6 separate regions of the Homo sapiens genome follow, and all the other regions are linked to region 6. Evidence: promoter capture Hi-C in 16 types of primary human blood cells and fetal thymus (Javierre and others, 2016). All regions are on one chromosome and are shown on one strand. Each heading gives the region's core, a stretch centred on a gene start or on the middle of the fragment in contact. The rest is flanking DNA. Distances are from core to core; before and after follow the strand shown.

Evidence for each region. The method cuts DNA at HindIII sites, captures the fragments that hold promoters and counts their contacts. A CHiCAGO score of 5 or more calls a contact.
Region 1: the fragment with the promoter of MFN2 here is called in contact with the fragment with the promoter of MTOR in region 6 in 7 of 17 cell types (fetal thymus, total CD8 T cells, total B cells and 4 more); the score reaches 12.1 in fetal thymus.
Region 2: the fragment with the promoter of DFFA here is called in contact with the fragment with the promoter of MTOR in region 6 in 10 of 17 cell types (fetal thymus, total B cells, M1 macrophages and 7 more); the score reaches 9.7 in fetal thymus.
Region 3: the fragment with the promoter of NPPB here is called in contact with the fragment with the promoter of MTOR in region 6 in 5 of 17 cell types (endothelial precursors, naive B cells, total B cells and 2 more); the score reaches 7.1 in endothelial precursors.
Region 4: a fragment that was not itself captured here is called in contact with the fragment with the promoter of MTOR in region 6 in 1 of 17 cell types (naive B cells); the score reaches 5.8 in naive B cells.
Region 5: a contact is called between the fragment with the promoter of KIAA2013 here and the fragment with the promoter of MTOR in region 6, in 9 of 17 cell types (fetal thymus, monocytes, non-activated CD4 T cells and 6 more). The highest score is 10.8, in fetal thymus.

What each region holds. Positions count from the first base shown.
Region 1 is chr1:11,977,769-11,981,784 of GRCh38, forward strand. MFN2 (mitofusin 2) reads left to right here and starts at 2,676. Exons shown (of 19, transcript NM_014874.4): 1 at 2,676-2,716. RefSeq lists silencers at 2,292-2,551, 2,722-2,961. The HindIII fragment of the contact is 7,841 bases long and covers 1-4,016 here.
Region 2 is chr1:10,469,633-10,473,843 of GRCh38, forward strand. It overlaps DFFA (DNA fragmentation factor subunit alpha), which reads right to left and starts at 2,897. Exons shown (of 6, transcript NM_004401.3): 1 at 2,691-2,897. The coding sequence starts at 2,826. RefSeq lists an enhancer at 2,366-2,465. The HindIII fragment of the contact is 4,411 bases long and covers 1,528-4,211 here.
Region 3 is chr1:11,857,217-11,861,423 of GRCh38, forward strand. NPPB (natriuretic peptide B) reads right to left here and starts at 1,729. Exons shown (of 3, transcript NM_002521.3): 1 at 1,486-1,729; 2 at 998-1,253; 3 at 248-455. The coding sequence starts at 1,617. The coding sequence ends at 439. RefSeq lists a silencer at 2,128-2,294. The HindIII fragment of the contact is 3,284 bases long and covers 251-3,534 here.
Region 4 is chr1:11,819,513-11,823,246 of GRCh38, forward strand. CLCN6 (chloride voltage-gated channel 6) reads left to right here. Exons shown (of 23, transcript NM_001286.5): 5 at 1-42; 6 at 3,183-3,289. Among named protein-coding and RNA genes, the nearest start is that of CLCN6, 15 kb to the left of the region's middle. The HindIII fragment of the contact is 5,075 bases long and covers 1-3,734 here.
Region 5 is chr1:11,923,819-11,927,756 of GRCh38, forward strand. It overlaps KIAA2013, which reads right to left and starts at 2,609. Exons shown (of 3, transcript NM_138346.3): 1 at 1,387-2,609. The coding sequence starts at 2,419. RefSeq lists enhancers at 1,553-2,215, 2,216-2,879, 2,534-2,828 and a silencer at 2,464-2,533. The HindIII fragment of the contact is 9,969 bases long and covers 1-3,938 here.
Region 6 is chr1:11,259,683-11,263,916 of GRCh38, forward strand. MTOR (mechanistic target of rapamycin kinase) reads right to left here and starts at 2,869. Exons shown (of 58, transcript NM_004958.4): 1 at 2,763-2,869. RefSeq lists a silencer at 2,587-2,636 and an enhancer at 3,057-3,216. The HindIII fragment of the contact is 974 bases long and covers 1,987-2,960 here.

The DNA.
Region 1 (4,016 bases), core at 1,426-3,925, 720 kb after region 6:
TTGAAACGAGGATTCAGCCATCTCAATGAGAAACACATGTTAATGGGTTGAAACATATCTCCAAACTGAGATTTCCTCTACTTGCTGGGCAAGTATGCAGATGTGTTTCAGAGATAAAGCCCAGCTGCTGGGCAGAGTACAAGACTAAATGCCTGGGAATGGATTCAGAGGTTCCTACAGCAGTCCAGGCAAGTGACCAGGACCTAGACCAATGCTTGCAGGGAAATTTAGGGAAGAGGAGGGAGTGGGCAGGGGAGATGTTTAGGAGAGAGAACATCCAGGCTTTCACCTGACGGGCAAGATTCTGCTAAAAAGGAAAAGGAAGGCTGGGCGTGGTGGCTCACACCTGTAATCCCAGCACTTTGGGAGGCTGAGGCGGGTGGATCACCTGAGGTCAGGAGTTTGAGACCAGCCTGGCCAACATGGTGAAACCCCATCTCTACTAAAAATACAAAAATTAGCCAGGCATGGTGGTGCACGCCTGTAATCCCAGCTAGTGGGGAGACTGAGGCGGGAGAATTGCCTGAGGCGGAGGTTGCGGTGAGCCAAGATGGTGCCACTGAGCTCCAGTCTGGGCAACAGAGTGAGAGCGAGACTCTTTCTCAAAAAAAAAGAAAAAAAAAAAAAAAGAGGAAATGGAATTTATAGTTCCTGCCCTCAGAGAATGGAAGTGGAATTTAGAGTTCCTCTCCTTAGGGAGTCCAGAGATTGTGGAGGAGGAAACAATCCGACCCAGTACCAGGCAGCTAGCAGCTGAGGCCCCAAGGCACGCTACATCCCAGACAGGGCCCTGTCTACACCCTGAGGCTGAGTCTGCGTGTGGCCCCACAGTCCACAGTCAGACCCGCGGGGCACTAGGCTACTCAGAGGGCAGTGTGGGCAGGACAGCTCCCTTTGGCCATCGTCATGAGACTGATAAACCAGTCACTTCTATATCAGAGTACTGATTTGCCTCTTGAGGTTGTTTGTGGCAATAAATTGAGGTTGTTCTACCATGGTTATAGAGCAGCACCATCCCACAGAATTACAGTTTGACCCACAAATGCAAGCTACTTATGTAATTTTAAATTTTCTAGTAGCGACATTTTTAAAAAGAAACAGGTGCAATTAATCTTAGTAATGTATTTAACCCAAATGACCCAAAATATTATCACTTCAACATGTAGTCAGCATATAAATAGTAATGGGCTAATAGCCCTGCACTGTGGCAGGTACCTGTAACCCGGCATTTTGGGAAGCCGAGGCAGGAGAAGATTGCTTGACTCCAGGAGTCCAGGAGTTCAGGACACCAGCCTGGGTAACAAAGTGAAATGCTTCCCCATGTCTACAAAAGATAAATACTAGGCATGGCTGCAGCATCTGTGGTCAGCTACTTGGGAGGCTGAGTGAGGTGGGAGGATTACTTGAGCCCAGGAGTTCGAGGCTGCAGTGAGCCGTGATTGCACCACTGCACTCCAGCTTGAGTGAGAGTGAGACTCTGGCTCAAAGATAGATTTTTTTTTTCTTTTTTGAGACGGAGTCTCTGTTGCCCAGGCTGGAGTGCAGTGGCATGATCTCGGCTCACTGCAACCTCCACCGCCCGTGTTCAAGCGATTCTCCTGCCTCTTCCTCCCGAGTGCACTATCATGCCTGGCTAATTTTTGTATTTTTAGTACAGACGGGGTTTCACCATGTTGGCCAGGCTGGTCTTGAACTCCCGATGCACCCGCCTCGCCCTCCTAAAATGCTGGAATTACAGGCTTGAGCCACCGCGCCCGGTCGATATTTTTTTTTCCTAAAAATTGAGATAGTTTAACAGCCTTTTTTGTCCTAAGTCTTATAGCGCATCTCCGTTTGCACTGGCTCAGGACTCGAGAGCCACACGTGGCTAGTGCCTACTGTTCTGGCGCGCTCAGGCTTGGAGCCTTCTCTGCGGAGGCCAAGTCCTGCAAGGGATCTGTTTGCTGCGGTTTCCTAGTAGTGTCTGCCGCATCACTGGGGCCCGGTGATCTGGGTAACCATGTGAGCTTGGGTAACCTCTCCTCTCCCTCTCCTGGGACTGCTGTGGACGTTAAATACAGCGGTGGATGTTAGAGACGCAGTTCAGTCACTGGCATTGATTCGCCGTTGTTGCTGCTCTTCTTTCCTCAAAGGCGACTGAAGGGCAGCAGGCCCATGCTCGCTTCTGTCTGCCCGATGAGTCACTTCACCCTAGGCCTGGCCCTCTAGAGAACACTCCTCTAAGATTACAGAATGCAAATCTGGATTCCAGAGCTGGCAGAGGCCCCAGGGTCAGGCTCTAGGACAACCGGCGAAAAAGCGGGAACCTCTACTCCACGCCCTTGGTTTTTCGCCCCTTGACAGCTTGAGGCTCCGCCCCGCTTTGCCCCGCCCCCCCAGCTCCGGCCGACGCCCACCGGAACTACAGCCCCCATGATGCAGTGGGAGTCCGAGCCTCTGCGTCGTCCGCTTGGGACGCGCCGGCGGAGGAGTGGCGCGCGGAGGAGTGGCGCGCTGAGACGCCGCTCGAAGCGCCGAGTCGCGGGGCAGCAGAGGCGTAAGGAGTAGGCGGGGCGAGCCGGCTGGGCTCAGGGTCCACCAGCTCACCCGGGTCGAGGGGCAATCTGAGGCGACTGGTGACGCGCTTATCCACTTCCCTCCTCCCGCCTCCCCCTGGGGTGGCGCTCGCTGGTGACGTAGTGAGTGTGATGGCCGCCGCGAGGCCGGGAAGGTGAAGGTGAGAGGGCGAGCAAGCCGGGGTGGCGGGGACTGGCCCGGCCCGGCCCGGCGAGTCCTGAGCAGCTCGGCGTGGGCCGACGGGATTCTGGGGCCACGGGGGTCTGGGATGCAGTCAAGCGGGGTCCCCACTCTCCGGCCTCGCCGCCGGGCCCTCCCCGGCCCTGAGAGGAGGGGGCGGGCCACGGGACCTGGGACTGGTCGGTGGGGTCCCCTGTAGCTTCTCATCGCCCCCGCCTTTCCACCCTTCACGGCCATGTTCTACCCCTGCCCCTTCTCTATTTTTCATCCTGTCTTCATTTTGCCAGCATTTACTCAGCACCTGATAGGTGTCCACGTTCACCGCGGGAGCGCCCTGCCATCCCCACTTTGGGCAGTTACTGCCTTCTCGTTCAGCCCTGTTTACTTATATGACTTCTCACCGGACTGTAAGGCCCTGGAGGGCAGGACTGTTTCTTATCCATTTCTAACGTGGCGCCTGACACACACAGAGAAGGCACACAGAAAATGTTGAATAAATAGCTGTTAAGACGCACGAAGGCAGAACTGCCCGTTACCCCCTCTCGTAATCCTTCATTGCCCTCTTTAAATTCTCAATCATCTCTCTCTCTTCTACCCAGAAAAGGGCTCTGGTTATCTCTTTTCTACCCAGAAAAGGGCTCTGGTTATCCGCCTCTGGTGTCCCAAGGTTTGGGGCTTGGGGGAGGAAGGCAGCTCAATGTAGTTAAAAAAGGAAGGAGGCCGGTCGCAGTGGATCACACCTGTAATCCCAGCACTTTGGGAGGCTGAGGCGGGCGGATCACCTGAGGTCAGGAGTTGGAGACCAGCCTGGCCAACATGGTGAAACCCCGTCTGTGCTAAAACCAAAAACTAGCCGGGCTTGCTGGCACACGCCTGTAATCCCATCTACTCAGGAGGCTGAGGCAGGAGAATCGCTTGAACCCGGGAGGCGGAGGTTGAGCCGAGATCGCGCTGCTGCACTCCAGGAGCTTTGGAGTCAAAGGGAGCTAATATTTCAGATCCCAGCTTAGACAAATCTTCAAGTATTCCAGCCCTCTGTCCCACAGAATAGAGAATTAAGTGAGATACTTTACAGTAGCTGAACACATTGGCTTTCAGTCAGTTCTTCTGTTCCTCAATAGTCAGCTGTTCCACAGTCCTCAAGCCCAGTTTTGTTCCTAGTTTTGCTCTGTCCTCTTCTCCCCTCTCTGGATGTACCTTTCCCAGGGCTCCTGCAGGGACCTCCGTGGTGCCTCAAACCCGCACATGGCGGAATACGTGTGCACAGTCAGGATTGGTCC
Region 2 (4,211 bases), core at 1,647-4,146, 790 kb before region 6:
GCCTCAGCCTCCCGAGTAGTTGGGATTATAGGCGTGCACCACCATGTCCGGCTAATTTTTGTATTTTTAGTAGAGACGTGGTTTCACCATGTTGACCAGGCTGGTCTCGAACTCCTGACCTCATGATCCACCCGCCTTGGCCTCCCAAAGTGCTGGGATTAGAGGCATGAGCCACTGTGCTCAGCCCTAAGTGCTTTTCTTTCTTTCTTTTTTTTTTTTTTTGAGACAGGCTGGCGTGCAGTAGTACAATCTTGGTTCACAGCAACCTCCGCCTCCCGGGTTCAAGCAACTCTCTGCCTTAGTCTCCCGAGTAGCTGGGACTACAGGCACCGGCCACCGTGCCTGGCTAATTTTTGTATTTTTAGTAGAGACGGGGTTTCACCATCTTGGCCAGTCTGGTCTGGAACTCCCGACTTAATGATCTACCTGCCTCGGCCTCCCAAAGTGCTAGGATTACAGGCATGAGCAACCGCGCCTGGCCTAAGTGCTTTTCATATACAGTATTTAATCTCATAATAATCCTGTAAAGTAGGTACTTTTATTAGTTCTGTTTTATAGATGATGAACCCAAGGCTCAGAGAGGTTAAGTAACTTGTCTAAGATCACACAGTAAGTGGCAAAGCTGGGATTTAAACCCACAAAGTCTGGCTCCTGAAAGTATGTTTACTCCAGCTACTCCACACTCATGTATGGTAGGCATTTGAGTTTTTACTGGAGTGAACAACCAATCAAAGTCTAGTTTGATTCCTTGCAAACAAGCAGTCTCTCATTCATTTATTCAGTTTTCCTCTTTTTTTTTTTTTTTTTTTTGAGACGGAGTCTCACTCTGTCGCCCAGGCTGGAGTGCCCAGGCGCTATCTGGGCTCACTGCAAGCTCCGCCCCCCGGGTTCACGCCATTCTCCTGCTTCAGCCTCCGGAGTAGCTGGGATTACAGGCGCCCACCACCACGCCCGGCTAATTTTTTTGTATTTTTAGTAGAGACGGGGTTTCACCGTGTTAGCCAGGATGGTCTCGATCTCCTGACCTCGTGATCCGCCCACCTCGGCCTCCCAAAGTGCTGGGATTACAGGTGTGAGCCACCGGACCCGGCCCTCAGGTGTCCTCTTAAATTCTCCTATGTGTAAAAATGTCAAAAAATACACCAAAAAGGCCAGGCACGGTGGCTCACGTCTGTAATCCCAGCACTTTGGGAGGCCGAGGCGGGTGGATCACAAAGCAGGCAATCGAGACCATCCTGGCTAACATGGTGAAAAACCGTCTCTGCTAAAAAATACAAAAAATTAGATGGGCGTGGTGGTGGGCGCCTGTAGTCCCAGCTACTCGGGAGGCTGAAGCAGGAGAATGGAGTGAACCCGGGAGGCGGAGCTTGCAGTGAGCCGAGATAGCGCCACTGCACTCCAGCCTGGGTGACAGAGTGACACTCCGTCTCAAAAAAAAAAAAAAAAAAAGAAAATGCTTTTTGTTCTTTACAGTATCTTCCTTAGCAGCTTCTTTTCTAACCTATGGGAAAGTATAAAAGAAGTGGAAGCTTCTATCAGTAGCTTTTCATATCATTATCATTGGCGGAGAGGCTTTCTCCAGGACAGGTCTGTACTATTCCATTTAGTGATAGCAATGCTTCAAATACTAACGGGACTGGAGTGATCAGAAATAGCCAAGAGACTACAAATATCCTTCAGCGGTGTTGTCTACCACCCAATAGAACAGCAAGGCATGTATGCGCTGGACTGCAGAGAACACCAGCCTCTGTGCCACGCACATCCAGCCACGGCACTGAAGGGGAATTAGAAGTAAAGTAATCTAATGTCAGGAAAAAAAATACATAAATGCTTATATGCAAAATCCATGTTACCAAAGCATTTATAATGCTTTGGCTGTTCATGGGTCTCTGAAAATTTCCATATGATTTCTGTTGGTGACTGAGAGGAAGCAACTGTGCCCTCTGACACACACTGTGACTACATGCCTGGGGCTGGCTCACACATGTAACCTGTAAAACTTCTTTGGGTAAGCGATTTGTTGCTACTGGCTAATAAGACTTGTAAGTCACTTAAATATATCATCTTATTTGAGAGAACCAACAACCCTTTGAAGCAGGGCTATAAATATTATACCCAATTTGCTGATGAGAAAACTGAGGGTTGAGAGCTGGTTAAGTGCAAGGCCAAGCAGCTGGTAAAGGTATGGGGCCGGGCTCGGAACTTCCGTCGGCTCCGTCACTTACAACTCACGTTCCTTGTCTGGACCTCCAGAAATGGTCAGTAGCAGCTCCCTCTTTCCTGCATAGGTTCCTGCCAGAGCGGACGGTGGAAACCCCTCCCCACACCGCCGTGGGCTCAGCTGGGGGTTCTTGTACCATCTGAGTGTGGCGGAGTGGCAGGAACCCAGTGGGGTCCGTTTGGTCCAACATCGAAGTGATTTCAGGCAAGAGACCTAAGCCGAGTCTGGCTTAATTTGCACATTGCTTCCTGGCTGTCTTCCCACCACCGTGGAGTCTCACACGAGATTAATTACGCTCAAGCGCCTTAAATCTGTAAATCGCTATGCCCACTCGGACCGTTTCTGTCCCAAGCCTCCACCCGAGATACAAGAATCCCCAAGTCGCCTCTCCTGACCCCGCCTCGCCCCCGCCGGACGTCCTCACCCGGCCCTGGCTCCCCCACACCCTCGCCCGGGGTCCCGAGCCAACCCTTGCTCCTCAGGTCTTCGAGGCAGGAGGCGGCCACGCCGTGCTGTTCGCGGCTGTAGTTGCGGCGCAGCAGACACGGCTTTAGAGTCCGGATCTCGCCAGATTCTGGTACCCCGGCGTCCCCGGTCACCTCCATCCTCCACAAGGTGGGACCTGCCCACCTTCGAGAAGTCGCGGGAGGCCGGAGCGGCGGTCCTTCTACTCGACCCCCTTCCGCAGCCTGCCGGGAGATGTAGTTCGTTCCGCAGCAAATCACACGTGAGACCAGGGCACGCCGGGAAATGTAGTTCTAGTTGCCGCTAATCACGTGTGGCGTCGAAGCATGCCGGAAACTGTAGTCTCTGGGTTTAAAGCCGCTTTCGTTCTATCGCGCGATTCAGCCTAGGAGTTGTTTTTAACTTTTAGGAGCTGCATTCGCGCGTTCAAATATAAGGCCAATAGAGACTTATTTTGCATGACGATGCACACGCATGTATACTGTATTGAATTTTTAGAGCATTCCTATTCGCATATGAGATGCATAATGCTAATACAGACACCCGCATGTTTCCACCCATTCTATTTCCTGCTTCAACTGTGCAAATTAGTTTGGGGTCTCAGAACAAAACGCTTAAATAAATATAGTAAGCATTAAAGTCTCAAATGCATCGGAGAGGAAAGGGGAAATGCGACTCGGCACTGTTGGAGATTGTTCAGATGCCTCTTGACAACATATTCATCTTTGTTTTAATACTGCTACTATGGAAAAGTTTGTTTTTTTCCTCCTGAAAAATAAACATCTAAGATTAAAAGAATAGTAATAAAAATGATCAAAAAGTTCCTCTCTTAAAAGAGGGCATTTTATGTAAACTAGAAGTAATTATCTGCTCATATTTATTCATTCGGGGGACACTTTCCTTCCTTGTTTCTTTTTTCTTTTTTTGAGACAGCGTTTCGCTCTGTCTCCCAGGCTGGAGTGCAGTGGCGCGATGATGGCTCACTGCAGTTTTGATCTCCTGGGCTCAAGCAATCCTCCCACCTCATATTTTGTTTATAAAAACGTGGGCAAGGGCCCCGGGGGCGGTGGCTCACCCCTGTAATCTCAGCACTTTAGGAGGCCGAGGCGGACAGATGATCTGAGGTCAGTAGTTTGAGACCAGCCTGGCCAGCATGGTGAAACCCTATCTCTACTAAAAATACAAAAATTAGCCGGGCGTGATGGCGCACGCCTGTAGTCCCAGCTCTTGGGAGGCTGAGGCAGGTGAATCGCTTGAACCCGGGAGGCGGAGGTTGCAGTCGGCCCAGATCGCACCATTGCACTCCAGCCTGGGCGTCAGGAGCAAGACTTCGTCTCAAGCAAAAACAAAAACAAAAGCAAAAACAAACAAAAAAAACGTGGGAGAGGAAATTGGATATTATCTCAAGAAAAGTTTAGACATTTAAAACAGCGTTTAGTAGGAGGAATTATTCATTAAGTCATCCCTTTTAAGCAGTCTATATTGATCAAAACACAACTATAATAGGAGCTGGCGGTTAACTCTA
Region 3 (4,207 bases), core at 479-2,978, 600 kb after region 6:
TGCACACGTATCCTGCCCTGCTTTGAAAAGCAGTTTCTCCCAAGTGCCTCAAGTGCTTGAGATATTCAATAACATTTCAGAGCATTAAAAACTCTGAAAGAAAAGAAAGCCTGCTACCTCTGAGGCCACATCCTCATCCCACCATGAAGATGCCTTGAGATCACAGGGCTTTGTGGTTTTAGTTGGGTTGGTTTCTTTGAAATGAGGGATTATTTTTAATGCGCCAAGACAAATCAGTTTCAAAAGATAAAGCTTATAATGTTGACTTTATTTCACCGTGGAAATTTTGTGCTCAAAGGTAAGAAACCATCTTATATAAAACAATCAAATAAATACATAAATACATTAAAAAAATGAGTCACTTCAAAGGCGGCCACAGGGTTGAGGAAAAAGCCCCTTGTGGAATCAGAAGCAGGTGTCTGCAGCCAGGACTTCCTCTTAATGCCGCCTCAGCACTGTCAGGGAAAGAGAGAGGGTGATGATGGTTAGGGTGGGAGATGGAGGCAGGGGCTGAGCTTACCTCATCGTGTGCCACCCACCACCCTGTTAGTCATCAGACGTTTGAGGCTTAATGCAACTCTCTGAGCCTCAGTTTCCTCATCTGTAAATTGGGGATTATCATTGCTCTGGTGATCCTGCTCTCTGCCTTTGAGACTATAGACAGTTTAGAGGAAACCAGGAGGAAATGTTTGGTTCTCTTTCTGCACCACTGGGGGGCTGCCAAATGATAAACAGACCCCCAAAGGAGATTCTGCCCCTTTGATAAGAAGTAGGAGGTGGGGAGAAGGTATTGTGGGCATGGTAATGAAATAAGCCCACATTTACTAATTCCACAAAGGCACCCCTTGGCCCTGAAGGCTGTTAACAAGAGGAAGCGATGTCCAGGTGACCTTTTCTCAAAGAGTGTGGTTCCCAGAGACAACAAACCCCAAAGTGACTCTAACAGTGTCACACACTGGAATGGGGGAAGGCGGCCGGGGTGGCAGGGGGTGCTTACCTTTGCAGCCCAGGCCACTGGAGGAGCTGATCCGGTCCATCTTCCTCCCAAAGCAGCCAGACCCTTGCACCATCTTGGGGCTTCGTGGTGCCCGCAGGGTGTAGAGGACCATTTTGCGGTGCCCACGGATGCCCTCGGTGGCTACCTCCCGGGACTTCCAGACACCTGTGGGACGGGGGCTCTCCTGGAGGGGCTCCAGGGATGTCTGCTCCACCTGCAGCTCCGACAGTTTGCCCTGCAAATGGTTGCGCTGCTCCTGCAATGAATGGGGGCGTCCAAGCCTCAGGGACCCACCCCTGGGCTCACCAGCCCTTCATGGCACCCAAGTGAACCGACTGCCTTGGGTACAGGGTCAGGGCACCCAGTCTCTCCATTTTCTGATTCCTTTATCACTAATTCCAAAGGAAAGATGAGGGCCTCTTGGGACAGCAGGTGAGGACCCTTTCATTGCTGCTGTCCAATCCCCCTGAGCTGCCCTCCGCTCTCACCTGTAACCCGGACGTTTCCAAGTCCGAGGCTGAACCGGGGCTGCCCAGCGGGTGGGAACGACCTCCCAGGAAAGCCAGATGCAAGAAGAGCAGGAGCAGGAGCGCCCGGGAAGGTGCTGTCTGGGGATCCATGTCTCTGGAGGGACTGCGGAGGCTGCTGCTGCTGCTTCTGCTGCTGCTGCTGCTGCTGCGATGCGTCCGGGTTTGCTTCCCACCTGCCCTCAGCCTGCGGGGTGCTCCTCCTGGCTCCTCGGGACACCGTGGCCTTTTATCCTGGAGCTGAGTGTCGGGCCTGCCCTGCCATGCAGGGTTATCTCTGATTTATCAGCCACATTCCGGGCCTCTGAGATCAGGGCCCGGGAATGAGCCCCTCCGCGCCTGCGACGTGGGAGGTGGAGACCGGGCAGAGCCGACCTTGTATAGAAATGGGCCGGGTCGGGCCGGGGGGCAGGAACGCGCTGGAGACACAGACAAGTCCCCGTCTCCCGCTTCTTCCTTTCCTGCAAATGTCCAGGTGTCCTAGGTTGGCGCTTTCTTCCTGCCTCCCCACCCCACCGTTGCTGGAAAAGGCAGGGAGGACCCCGGCTTTCCGAGGACCGACGTGAGCGCGGGGAGCACGGGGTGACTCACAGCGAAAACAGCCCCGGCCAAGACCCCGCCACCCGCGGCGCCTCTCCCCTCCCCGCGCGAGTTCCCTGGCCCGCACGTAGCGCAGCACCTGCTCGCCGCTGTGCACCCTGCCTGCCTGCGGGTCCTCGGGGGCGCCCTGGCCGCTGTCCGTGGTGCTGATCACCCCGAGGGAACTTGGAGCAAACTCTCAAGAGCTGCTCTCTTCAACGGGATTTTCAGGCCAGAAAGACCTGCGTGGAGCAAGGACAAGAGACCTCCGAGACCTTTCCCTATGCTCTCACAATCCGCCATCTTATAGTCCTTACAGCAACGGGATGCTGATTCCCCAGTGGCAATTCATTAAAAGCCTGGGTATGACCAGGAACTTCTGGAATGCTGACCCTTCTTTCACTCCTTAAAGGGAAGAGCAGATTTCGCTGGAATTTTGAGAGATAGGGTCCAGTGATGACGAAGTCACCCAAGAATGCCTTATATGTGTGTCCTCCACGTGTCAACACCTCCTCTCCCCCACCAAGCCAACACAGGATGGAAAACAAAAGGATAGGCTGGGCATGGTGGTTCACGCCTGTAATCCCAGCACTTTGAGAGGCCGAGGCGGTCGGATCACGAGGTCAGGAGATCGAGACCACGGTGAAACCCCGTCTCTACTAAAATTACCAAAAATTAGCTGGGCATGGTGGCAGGCGCCTGTAGTCCCAGCTACTCGGGAGGCTGAGGAAGGAGAATCACTTGAACCCAGGAGGTGGAGGTTGCAGTGAGCTGAGATCACGCCACTGCACTCCAGCCTGGTTGACAGAGAGCGAAAAAAGAAAGAAAGAAAGAAGGAAAGAAAGAAAGAAAGAAAGAAAGAAAACAAAAGGATGGCTGGAATGATGGTTATCTATTTGCTGGGATACCAGAGATATGGGGATTTCCCCTCTCCCAGTGCCTCCTTCATCTGACCACCCATGATCTAATTATCATTAGCAGGTGGCCTGGTGATTAGAAGTGAGACTTTGGAGAGAAATGCCCCTGAGAAGAGTCATAGCAGCTTAAATACCCCCCTAAAGCATATATGACTGATGTCACTCCCCTTCCAGAGAATTGGTGTCAACAAGCAGCAGGCTGGAGGAGTGGAGCTGTCTATGAGGGGAGAAGAGTTACAGCAGAGAAGGGCAGCAATAAGAAACTGGGACCTCTAAGCAGATCTTGCCTAAAAAATAGCATCTGCCCCTGAGGTGAGAAAAGCACGGTTATTATTCCTCACTTCAGAGGAGGAAATGGTGTTCATGAATTAATCTACTTTCCAAAAGTCACACAATTGACACATGATAAATCCTGGATTCTAACCAGTCTGATTAGTCTAGCCAGCAGTCTGATTCCAGACCTGAAGCTCATAATCACTGCCAGGGTGATCACAAGGTGTTTCTACAAAAAGCAAGCTTAGGTGAATCCCGTGTCATCTATGAAGGCTCTGGGAGCTGTGCTGTGGGGGATGTGCAATTCTAGTGGTGACTGTGTGTGCAGGAGAAAGAATGGGAAGTGGCTCAGATGAGCATTTTGCAGATGAAATATAAATGGAGGTGGGTGGGTAAGGGCTGTGTAAAGACACCAGTGCTGGAAATGTTCTGGGGGGCTGGGGTAGTTTTGTGTGTGTGTGTGTGTGTGTGTGTGTGTGTGTGCGTGCACATGAGCATGCCACAGTAAGAGTATCAAAAGGCTAAGAGGAAGCTAAAGAGGTAAGAAAATTCAGCCAAGTGCAGAGGGGAGTCAGTGGGCGAGAGGCTGCTGAGGGTGCAGAAAGCCCCTCATGCTGAGTACCATGAGATAAAGGGTTCAGAGCAAGGCAGGATTCATCAACCAGCACCATCAAAAACTGACTCTGCATCTCGCCAGAGCCTCACTTTGCTCTTCGGCAAAATGGACAGTCCTTGCAAGGACTAAAAGGAAAAAAATAATATCTGCAAAAGCCCGTGGCACTGTATAAAGGGCCAAATAATTAGTAGTACATGAGAGTTGGTCTTTACACTGAAGGAGATTGTGATCTCACTGGGGAGACAAAGTGACCCCAAGTGAGACAATTAAGTGTCTAAGTGTCATACACTCTGACAGA
Region 4 (3,734 bases), core at 786-3,285, 560 kb after region 6:
TGCGACTCTTCACCCAACTCAAGTTCGGAGTGGTACAGACATGTATCCTTTTCACGGTTCCTGGTGTTCGTGGACTTCAGTGGTCACCAAGATTCTTTCTTACATAGAAATGGGTCTAACAGTAAGCATAGTATTAGAAGGGCCGCTTATTAGCTATTCAGCTTTAATATTTCTAATGATCACTGAAGGACACAAAAGAAGGACTTTAATAAGCAAAGACATATACCTATGTTTGTGGTTGATAAGATTACAGATGCCGCAAAGATGCCTGTACTCCCTAATCTGTAAATTTAATGTAGTTCCAATCAAAATTCCAATAGAATTTGTTGTGGAACTCAGAAATTCTTTGTAAATTTGTGTAGAAGAGTAAAGGGCCAAAAGCAGTCAGTATAGTTCTAAATGACAAGAAGGTGGACTTGACCCTGTCAGATATCAAGTCTTATAAAATTAACAAGTTTGGGGAGTTAGGGAAAAAAAAGTCATAAAATTTAAGATACAGTCATTGAAATTGGTCATATTGGTGCAGGAATACCTAGACAGTGGAAAATGATAGAGAAGCAGAAGCTGGTCCTCACATACATGGAACTTTGGTGAATGACAGTTAATATTACAAATCAGTGAGGGAGTGATGAATGATTTAATAAAAGACGCTGTGTTATTTAATAAATAAAAGATACACATCTCTGTAGTCCCAGCTACTTAGGAGGTGAGCCCAGGAGTTTGAGGCTGTAATGCACCATGACTGTGCCTGGGCAGCATAGCAAGACCCTGTCTTAAAAAAAATGATGCTGGGACATGGGTGATCCATATGGAAAAATAGTTATATTCCTATTTCATACTATAAATAAGATAAATTCCAGATGAAGATGTAAATATGCAGAACAAAACTTCGGGAGACTATATGTTGTCAAGAGTGGGGAATAATTTCTTAAAACTCCAGAAGGCACAGACTATAAGAAAAAACATCAATGGGGCCGGACACAGTGGCTCACGCCTGTAATCCCAGCATTTTGGGAGGCAGAGGCAGGCGGATCACAAGGTCAGGAGATTGAGACCATCCTGGCTAACACGGTGAAACCCCGTCTCTACTAAAAATACAAAAAAATTAGCTGGGCGTGGCGGTGTGCGCCTGTAGTCCCAGATGCTGGGGAGGCTGAGGCAGGAGAATGGCATGAACCTGGGAGGCGGAGCTTGCAGTAAGCCAAGATCACGCCACTGCACTCCAGCCTGGGTGACAGAGCAAGACTCCGTCTCAAAAACAAACAAACAAAAACATCAATGGCTGGGTGCAGTGGCTCATGCCTGTAATCTCAGGACTTTGGGAGGCCGAGGCAGGCAGATCACCTGAGGTCAGGAGTTCAAGGCCAGCCTGGCTAACATGACAAAACCCCATCTCTACTAAAAGTACAAAAAATTAGCTGGGCATGGTGGCGGGTGCCTGTAATCCCAGCTACTTGGAAGGCTGAGGTGGGAGAATCGCTTGAACCCGGGAGACAGAGGCTGCAGTGAGCCGAGATCGCGCCATTGCACTCCAGCCTGGGCAATGAGAGCAAAACTGTCTCAAAAAACAACAACAAAAAAAAAAAACAAACAAAATCAATAAATTTGACCACATCAAAGTACATATTGTATTTATAAAGACAAAAACTCCAAATAACAACAATAAAACACCATAAATAAAGTGAAAACAAGTCCACAGCCTGAGAGAGGTTATTTACTATGCATTTAAGAGGCAGATAATTAGTATCCAGAATACAGGAAGAGGCTGGGCGCGGTGGCTGACGCCTGTAATCCCAGCACTTTGGGAGGCCGAGGCAGGCGGATCACTTGAGGTCAGGAGTTCAAGACCAGCCTGGCCAACATGGTGAAACCCTGTCTCTACTAAAAATACAAATTGAGCTGAGTGTGGTGGTGTGCACCTTTAGTCCAGATACTTGGGAGGCAGAGGCAGGAGAATCACTTGAACCCAGGAGGCGGAGGTTGCAGTGAGCCGAGATTGCAACACTGTACTCCAGCCTGGGTGACAGAATGAGACTCTGATTCAGAACAAATAATACAGGAAGAACTCCTGCAACTCAATCAGAAAAACAACAGATGGTCCAATGGAAGGAAAACGAGCAAAGGATGTGAACTGGAATTCTCAAAAGAGAAAAACTGGCCAGTAAACCTCTAGAAAAAGGAAGGTGCACATTCCTGTGACTCATACATTCCTCTTAGAAATTTGAACCGTAGACATGTACAAAGGTGGTAATTATAGCTTTATGATAGCAAAAAGCTGGAGTCACCAAATGGGAGAATGGAAAAATTATGGTACATTCATATGGTATCATTTTAGACATCATGTCATTTCTGTAGATTGTAAAATAAAAATTTTAGACAAGTGAAAGTGAACGAACCACAGAGTTGTGTGTATCAACATGGCTAATTCTCAAAGACTTAATGTTGAGAAAAAAAGAGCAAGTTACAGAATATACAAGTGCCGTGTACAACAGTGTGGACACTTTTGAAATACACACAATAATTTCAGGTTAGTGGTTTCTCCCAGGGGAGAGAGGAAGGAAAACTGTTTTTTTTTTTGTTTTGTTTTGTTTCTTAAAATGGTACTGAATGTTTTCTTTTTTAAAAATACCTGGAGCATATATGGCATGTTGTTGAGATTTGTTAAAGCTACAGTTGTGAGGGTATGGGTATTCGTTACTTTTTGTAATGTTTGAAGTATTTCCTAATGTCAAAGGCATCTCAAACAATTTTTTCTTTTTTTTAAGAGATGAGGCCTCACACTGTTGCCTAGGCTGGAATGCAGTGGTGCAATGACAGCTCACTGCAGCCTCAGCCTCCCAGGCTCAAGCGATCCTCCCACCTCAGCTTCTTGAGTAGCTGGGACCATAGGCATATACCTTTTGTACTTTTTGTAGCGACATGGTCTCACTACATTGCCCAGGCTGGCCTCCAACTCTTAGGCTCAAGTGATCCTCCTGCCTCAGCCTCCCAAAGTGTTGGGATTACAGGCATGAGCCATTGCACCCAGTCATCTCAGGCAGTTTTTAAAAAATTTTTATATATAGAGAAAAAGTGCACTCAGCAGCCAGCATGATCCAAAGGAGAAGCAGCTGCACCCTCTCAAGTGATGACGGGGACACCCCTCGGCTGATGAACAAGTTTCCTTAACCCAGTTTCCGCAGCGGTGGAGGAGTGCAGCCAGAAAGGCTGCCTCGCTCTGTCTCTCCTTGAACTCCTGGGTTTTAACCTCACCTTTGTCTTCCTGGCAAGCCTCCTTGTTCTCATTGAGGTGAGGTGGTTTGGATTCACCTGCTCGCTTAGGAGGTTTTAGAGTCCCGCACTCCTTTTCCCCACCTCCTTCCAGAATGTCAGGAAACTGAGAATGCAGATTCCTGCAGAAAGTGGCCTCTTGTTCACTAAAGGTAAAGGTTTCACCTCTGGTGAGATTAAAGAAGAAAGGCCTCCCAGGTGATGCTCATTCACAGGGAACTTGTACAGATTCTGGGGGGAGGAAAAAAGGGGGAAAGGGCTGAAAACAAAACTGTTGGGTGCCATGCGCACTACCTGGGTGACAGGATCATTCATGTCCCAAACCTCAGCATCATGCAATATACCCTCGTAACATACCTGTACATGCAATCCCTGAACCTAAAATAAAAGTGGAAATTATTTTTCTTTAAAAAGTGCAAGTCTGGCCACTTTGGGAGGCCAAGGCGGGCAGATCACCTAAGATC
Region 5 (3,938 bases), core at 1,359-3,858, 660 kb after region 6:
AGGCCACTTCTCCTCTCTGTCCTTTCTCTCTCCAGTCTTGTAGCTTTATGTATGTATGTATTTATTTGTTTATTGAGACAGAGTCTCACTGTGTTGCCCAGGCTTGAGTGCAGTGGAACGATCTCAGGTTACTACAGCCTCCGCCTCCCGGGTTCAAGTGATTCTCCCGTCTCAGCCTTTGAGTAGCTGGGACTACAGGTGCAGGCCACCACCCATGCCTAAAACAGCCCTGGCAGAAGCATTCAATAGACACTTGCTGAATAAACACGTGCTGGGCCCCTTTGCTACTGATGGATTCAACAGCCCTAAGATTTAAAAACATACACACACACAACTTTGTTTCTGTGAAGATGACCATCCTCTCGCCGGGCGCGGTGGCTCACGCCTGTAATCCCAGCACTTTGGGAGGCCAAGGTGGACGGATCATGAGGTCAGGTTAAGTTTTGTATTTTTAGTAGAGACAAGGTTTCGCCACGTTGGCCAGGTTGGCTTGAACTCCTGACCTCAGGTGATCCACCTGCCTCAGCCTCCCAAAGTGCTGGGATTACAGCGTGAGCCACCGCGCCCAGCCAGCACATTCTAGCCTAAAAAGATGCCTTATTTTAATTTTAATTTTCACTTTTCTAATGTCTGTCTTCCTCCCAACCAGAATTTAAGCAAGCACCATGAGAACAGGAACTCTGGTTCCCATCTGCACCCCCCCATGCATAGAACAGCCCTGGCAGAAGCATTCAATAGATACTTGCTGAATGAACTCAACTCTCTGAGCAACCAAACACAAAGGTTCAGACAATTGGAACCCTGGAAACCAAAACCCCTCTCTCATCCAGAACAGGATTTTCTTTTCTTTAACAGTCAACGAGAGGAGAGTTTTCATCGGGCGGGAGCATCTCAACCTGCTAAAAGGGATTCTCCAACCTCCCTGTGAACCAGTTGCAGCCACAACTGCCAGGACGCACCTCAGCCTAGCAGGGGTTATGTCAAGAAGCCCACGTCTGTCACCAGGCCGACTGCGGTGCTGAGCAAAGAATCAGGGGATCCACCTGCTGGTTTCACCTCTGCAAACTGACTCTAAAACACTTCACTCTGCTCACATCAGGCCCCATCTACCAAAACAAGTAACAGAAAGAATTGACCTTTACACTCAATTGTCCACTACAGTCTCATAAAAACCTTCTGAGGTAGGCGTTATTGTTATTAAATACAGGCCCAGAGAGATTAGGCGACGAATCCAAAGGTCGCACAGACACTAAGCAGTTGAGCAGATTCAACCACTGGTGAAACGCCAAGCCCAAGTTTCAACCACCCCACCATCACCTTCAGTGTCACCTCTGCAGACTTGGGAGGGACATATCTAGGGTGGACCAAGCGCTGGCCAGGACTCACCTGGGCTGAAGAGCTGAGCCCAGAGGAGCTGGTGGTCTTGAAGCAGCTCCGCCGCTGGCATGTCCAAGAGCTCCAGCATTTCCTTCCGTGCCAAGTCCTGCAGCGCCTTGAGCTCCTTGGCTGCTTTGCTTTTGAGCACCTGGGGGTTAATGGGGCCAGAGACGTGCACCACCCACAGCACCGTCTCATCCAGCTGCGTCTTGGGAGCCACTTGGAGGCGGTTCACCAGCTTCTTGGCGGCCACCACCACCAGGTGCACCAACCCAGTGGGCGTAGGCGGGGACCGGCCTGAGTAGAGGAGGAACTGATGGTCTCCGACCTTCTCCAGGGTACTGGTGAAGGCCTTGGGGGCTGGGCCGGCAGTGGGCCCCACAGTCTGCAGCGCGGCCACGCGCTCCGTGGGGTTGTTGAGCTGGATGCGCTGCAGGTAGACGTGGGGTCGGCCCCTGTGCGCCAGAAAGTCCTCTTGCAGCAGCACGCAGTCGCGGCCGGACCCCGCGGCAAGGCCAGAGACGGAGGCGGGCCCGGGGCCGGCGGCCACGGGGCCAGGACCTGGGGACCCCAGCTGCAGGCAACGCACGCGGCGCAGAAGCCCCTCCCGCAGCAGCAGCACCGCCTCTCCAGCTTCAGCCAGCGCGCTCAGCGGGCGCAGCTGCACGAAGGGCACAAAGTCCGGCGCCACGGCGGGCTCCCGCTCCCCGGGAGTCACCCACAGCCGATTGGCAGCCACGTCCAGGGCCAGGAAGCCGTTGGCCACCAGGGCCGGCACTCCAGGACCCAGCGGTACCACCTCACCGCGCTCCCGCAGGCCGCGCCAGGCGCGGGTGGCCGCCTCCAGGCAGGCAGACGGCTCGGCGGCGCCCGGCTCACCGCGGGACCAGGGCAGCAGGTGCAGGCCGCCCGCCGCCCGCCGCGCGCCGGACCCCCCAAACCACAGAAGCAGCAGCAGGAGGCCAAGCAGGCAGAGGAGGCGGCGGGCCCAGCTGCTCGACAGCAGTCCCGGCAGCCCCTTGAGCCGCTGCTGCAGCCACATCGGGCCGCCAGGCGCGGGCAAGGGTGCGAGGGCGGCCGCCGGGCCCGCCGCCCAGCCCACCGGCCCGGCCGCCCGCGCCTCACTGCCCGGCCCGGACCGCGGCGCCCACCCCGGCCCCCGCCGCAACCGCCGCAGCAGCCGCCACCCCTGCTTCCTCCTTCTTCTCGGTGGCCTCCAGCCGTCAAACGACGCCGGCGGTCAAGCGTCGCCGTGTCTTTTACGACAGATGGAAAACGGGAGGGCGGAGGGAGGAGAGAGAGCAGGCCGGAGAGAAGGGGGCGGAGCCACGGCGAGGGCGGGACAAAAGCTGCCGGGGGCGGGACCACTCGTTCCCAGGCCGGAAGAGTGAAGTCCAGTGGAGTTAAGTGCAGGGGTCTGGGGAGGACTGGAAGCATCCAATTCACTCGTGAAAAAAACATCGAGCCAGCCAAACCGAACACGTGTTGGGCCCCTTTGCTACTGATGGATTCAACAGCCCCAAAATTTAAAAACATACACACACACACACACAACAACTTTGTTTCTGTAAAAATGACCATCCTCTCGCCGCGCGCGGTGGCTCACGCCTGTAATCCCAGCACTTTGGGAGGCCAAGGCGGGCGGATCACGAGGTCAGCAGTTTGAGACCAGCCTGACCAACATGGTGAAACCCCATCTCTACTAAAAATACAAAAACTAGCCGGGCGTGGTGGCGCATGCCTGTAATCCCTGCTCCTCAGGAGGCTGAGGTAGGAGAACTGCTTGAACCCGTGAGGCGGAGGTTGCAGGCTTGCAGTGAGCCGAGATCACGCCACTGCACTCCAGCCTGGGCGACAGAGTGAGACTCTGTCTCAAAAAAAAAAAAAAAAAAAAAGACTATCCTCACTGCAAAAAAACACTTGGAACAATACGAAAAAGTGGAGGAAAAAAAAAGGAGAGAGAAGAAGAGGAAGAAAGAAGAAGAAAGGAAAAGGGAGGAGGAGGGGAAGGGGAACCACCAGAGGCCAGGAGTGGTGGCTCACGTCTGTAATTCCAGCACTTTAGGAGGCTGAGATGGGCAAATCACTTGAGGTCAGGAGTTCGAAACCAGCCTGACCAACATGGTGAAAACCTGTCTCTACTAAAAATACAAAAATTAGGCTGGGCACGGTGGCTCACGCCTGTAATCCCAGCATTTTGGGAGGCCGAGGCCGCCAGATCACGAGATCAGGAGATCGAGACCATCCTGGCTAACACGGTGAAACCCTGTCTCTACTAAAAATATAAAAAATTAGCCAGGCGTGGTGGCAGGCGCCTGTAGTCCCAGCTACTCGGGAGGCTGAGGCAGGAGAATGGCGTGAACCCGGGAGGCGGTGCTTGCAGTGAGCCAAGATCGCGCCACTGCACTCCAGCCTGGGTGACAGAGGGAGACTCTGTCTCAAAAAAAAAAAAATAAATAAATAAAAATAAAAAAATAAAAATGCAAAAATTAGCTGGGCGTGGTGGTGGGCGCCTGTAATCCCAGCTACTTGAGAGACTGAGGCACGAGAATCGCTTGAAC
Region 6 (4,234 bases), core at 1,619-4,118:
ATATACCTTGAGCAGTTTGGGAGGCTGAGCCTGGAGGACCACCTGAGGTCAGGAATTTGAGACCAGCCTGCCCAACATGGTGAAAACCCATCTCTATGAAAAATACAAAAATTAGCTGGGCGTGGTGGCATGTGTCACCCAGGAGGCTGAGGCAGGAGAATCCCTTGAACCTGGGAGGTAGAGGCTGCAGTGAGCCGAGATCCTGCCACTGCACTGTCTCAAAACAAAAACAAACGAAAACAAAAACAAGGTTATATACCTCAAGAAAGACACTCAAAATGTGTTTCTTCAACTACAATAGGAAGATAATAGTACCTAGTTCATGGGTTGATGTGAGAACTAAATGACTTAATACGTGTCAAAAAGTGTTTAAAACAGTGCAGGGCATATACTAAGTTCTTAATAATTGTTAGCTATTATTATTACTACTACTACTACTATGTACATGGCAAAATGCCAGGTAACAAATGTCAGGAGGTAGGGAAAGAATTAAAAATGACTAAGACTGCCCCTTTCCTCAAGTTCAGTCTAAAAAGAGAGATTATTATTCTACAGCAGCACTATCTAATGGAAATTTAGGCCGGGCACAGTGGCTCACGCCTGTAATCCCGGCACTTTGGGAGCCCAAGGTGGGCAGATCACCTGAGGTCAGGAGTTTGAGACCAGCCTGGGCAATATGGTGAAACCCCGTCTCTACTAAAAATACAAAATTAGCCAGGCGTGGCAGTGCGTGCCTGTAACCCCAGCTACTTGGGAGGTTGAGGCAGGAGAATCACTTGAACCCAGGAGGCAGAGGTTGCAGTGAGCTGAGATTGGGCCATTGCACTACAGCCTGGGCAACAAGAGCAAAACTCCATCTCAATTAAAAAAAAAAAAAAGAGGAAATACAATGATCCACAAATGTAATTTTAAGGCTGCTTGTAGCCATATTTTAAAAGGTAAAAAGAAACAGGTGAAATTAATTACCTAAACCAATATATCCAAAATATCATTTCAACATGTTATCAATATTTAAAAAATTGATATAGTGTCCATTCTTTTTTTTTAGCGAGTCTTCAAAATCTAATGTGCATTTTACACTTACAACAATGTCAATTTGGACTAGTCATTTTTTTTTTTTTTTTTGAGACAGAGTCTCGCTCTGTCACCCAGGCTGGAGTGCAGTGGCATGATCTCGGCTCACTGCAACATCCACCTCCCGGGTTCAAATGATTCTCCTGCCTCAGCTTCCCGAGTAGCTGGGACTACAGATGTGCAGCACCACGCCTGGCTAATTTTTGTGTGTTTTTAGTAGAGATGGGGTTTTATTATGTTGGCCAGGCTGGTCTCAAATTCCTGACCTCAGGTGATCTGCCCGCCTTGGCCTCCCAAAGTGCTGGGATTACAGGTGTGAGCCACCATGCCCGGCCTGGACTAGTCACATTTCAAGTGCTCCACAGCCACATGTGGCTGGTGGTTCTTGTACTGAACAACGCAGTTCTACAGGGGACTAGCTCTTCAAATGTAAGCTAAAAGAAAGTAATTAGTTCCTGGCCGGGTTTGGGAGGCCGAGGCGGGCGGATCACGAGGTCAGGAAATCGAGACCATCCTGGCCAACACGGTGAAATCCCGCCTCTACTAAAAATACAAAAAAAAAAAAAAATTAGCCGTATGGTGGCGGGCGCCTGTAGTCCCAGCTACTCGGGAGGCTGAGGCAGGAGAATGGCGGGAACCCGGGAGGCGGAGCTTGCAGTGAGCAGAGATCGAGCCACTGCACTCCAGCCTGGGCGACAGAGCGAAACTCCGTCTCAAAACAAAACAAAAAACACCAATTAGTTCCTGAGCTCATTCCCTCATTCCTCAATTATGCCCACACTGCCATGGGTGTAACATACACCTATCCCAAGTATGTTCAGCTTATGCTACAAAACCAATTTCTCAAAATTCTTATTTTTGAAAGAATTTGTAAGGCACAGAGGAAAAACCTGGGAATAATTGGTTTTGTAAAGCTTTCAAATACTCCACTGCCAAGAAGAAGACTGCAGAAAGAAATGTCATCCTTTAGGGGAGAAGAAACTTAAGAATCCCTGCTAAGAAAACTACTCCAGTTTGTGTGTATGTGTGTGCGTCCGAAAGGGGGGAAGGTGGCTGGCAAGGGATTTCTATTCTCAGGAAAGAACCAGTGTATCTTTATATGATCTGAGGCCCACAGGCCATCTGCTCCAGACTGAATTCAATTAAACTTAGGATATCTGAAGTCAAATATCCTAATGGTGTTGATAGGGCTTAAGGAAGTTAAGATTGGATGGGGGAAACAGGGATGGGGCTGGGGGAGAGGGAGAGAAGATGTACCCCAACGATGTAACCAAGCTCAGTTTCGGGGACTGGATCTCTGAGAGGTGTCCACAGTGGAGGACAAGGGGCTGACACGGACGCTAGTGTTCCCTGGGGCAGAGATACACAATTTTTATACGTGGCTCAAAAGAAAGGGTGGCTGTGACAGGCAAAAGACCCAAAGGGCAATACCAGAGCTGATGGGCCGGCCTTCGGGCGGACGTACCGCGGGCCGAAGGGTCCAGGGGTCTCTTGGGGGTCCCGGGGAGGTGGGCGTTGCCTCGAGGGGTGGGAGTCAAGGCCTCAGACGGTGCCCAGGTCGTGGGGCCGGCAATGTGGGGACCCCACGTCCCAGACGGGCGGCTTCCCCTGGCCCCCCCACGGGCAGGCTGGCCGTGGGTCTGGACATTACGCCGCCCTAGAGGGGTCGTGCCAGGCCCTAGACTCACCGCGCGGCTTCGGCCAAGGCCTCAGCTGCCGCCGCCAGCACCGGTACCGCCGCTTCAGGCCCCCTGCCCCACCGCCCGCCTTCCCCGCTGTCCTCTAAGCCGGGAGCGAGGGAAGGAGGGTTCCCAGCCCTGAGGACCAATCGACAGGTATAGGGAGAAGATGGACTGAAAAACAGGCCAATAGTAATGAAGAAGAGAAGCTTCAGGACCCGGCTTCTCCAGGGGGCGGGGACTGTTCAAATAGACAAACCACGCGGCCAGTGGCAGGTGAAAACAGGCTTGGGTCCACTCGGGAGAACCAATCGGTCGTGAGTTCACCTCAGTCACTTCCACTCACACATCCGGTACGGCGCTGCTAGGATTCCCTTCTGCATCCGGGCTGTGAACTCAAGGAGTCCGGTGTCTGGGTATCTCCGGATCGCAGCGAGAGCGGCTAGCAGAGGTTCGCGACCCCTCCCGGTGTAATTCTGAGAGGAGAATGTGAGCGATGCCGGTGCCCAGGAATTACTGCATCAAAAGACGTTTCGGGCTAGCGCTCTTTATGGATCCTGTGATATCTCTTTTGTTACAATTAATAAGCATTTGAAAATGTTTTTAATTAGATTCTCTAACTTTCCCAAAATTATCCAACTCAGGATCACTCCAGAGAAACCATAGCCAAGTTTTAACCAAAAGAGCTAGTCATAAATAAAAATTTTCAAAGCAACATTATTTTTTAAAAATCCTTTCAAAAAATCAATAGCTGGCCCGGCGCGGTGGCTCACGCCCATAATTCCAGCACTTTGGGAGACCGAGGCAGGCGGATCACCGTAGGTCAGGAGTCGAGACCAGCCTGGTCAACATGGTGAAATTCCCCCACCCGCACCCCCCGTCTCTACTGAAAATACAAAAATTAGCTGGGCATGGTGGCTCACGCCTGTAATCCCAGATACTCGGGAGGCTGAGGCACGAGTATCGCCTGAACCCGGGAGGTGAAGGTTGCATGCACCGAGATCGTGCCACTGCACTCTAGCCTGGGCAACAGAGCAAGCTCCGTCTCAATACATACATACACACACACACACACACACACACACACACACACACACACAACCAAAGAAAATAAATAACTGCTGGTCACGGTGGCCCACGCACTTTGGGAGGCCAAAGCAGGAGGATCGCTTGAGGCCAGGAGTTCCAGACCAGCCTGGGCAACATAGCGAGACGATGTCTCTACAGATTAAAAAAAAAAAAATCAACAGCAAAAGTGGATTTGACTACATTTTTTTTTAATCACAGTGCTATTTGTCATAGTAAACACTGAAAATTCCTAAATATTTCAAAGTAGGAGTCCAATAAAATATGATGCATTCGTTTGGGCGCGGTGGCTCACACCTGTAATCCCAGCACTTTGGGAGGCCGAGGCGGGCGGATCATGAGGTCAGGAGTTTGAGACCAGCTTGACCAACATAGTGAAACCCCGTCTTTACTAA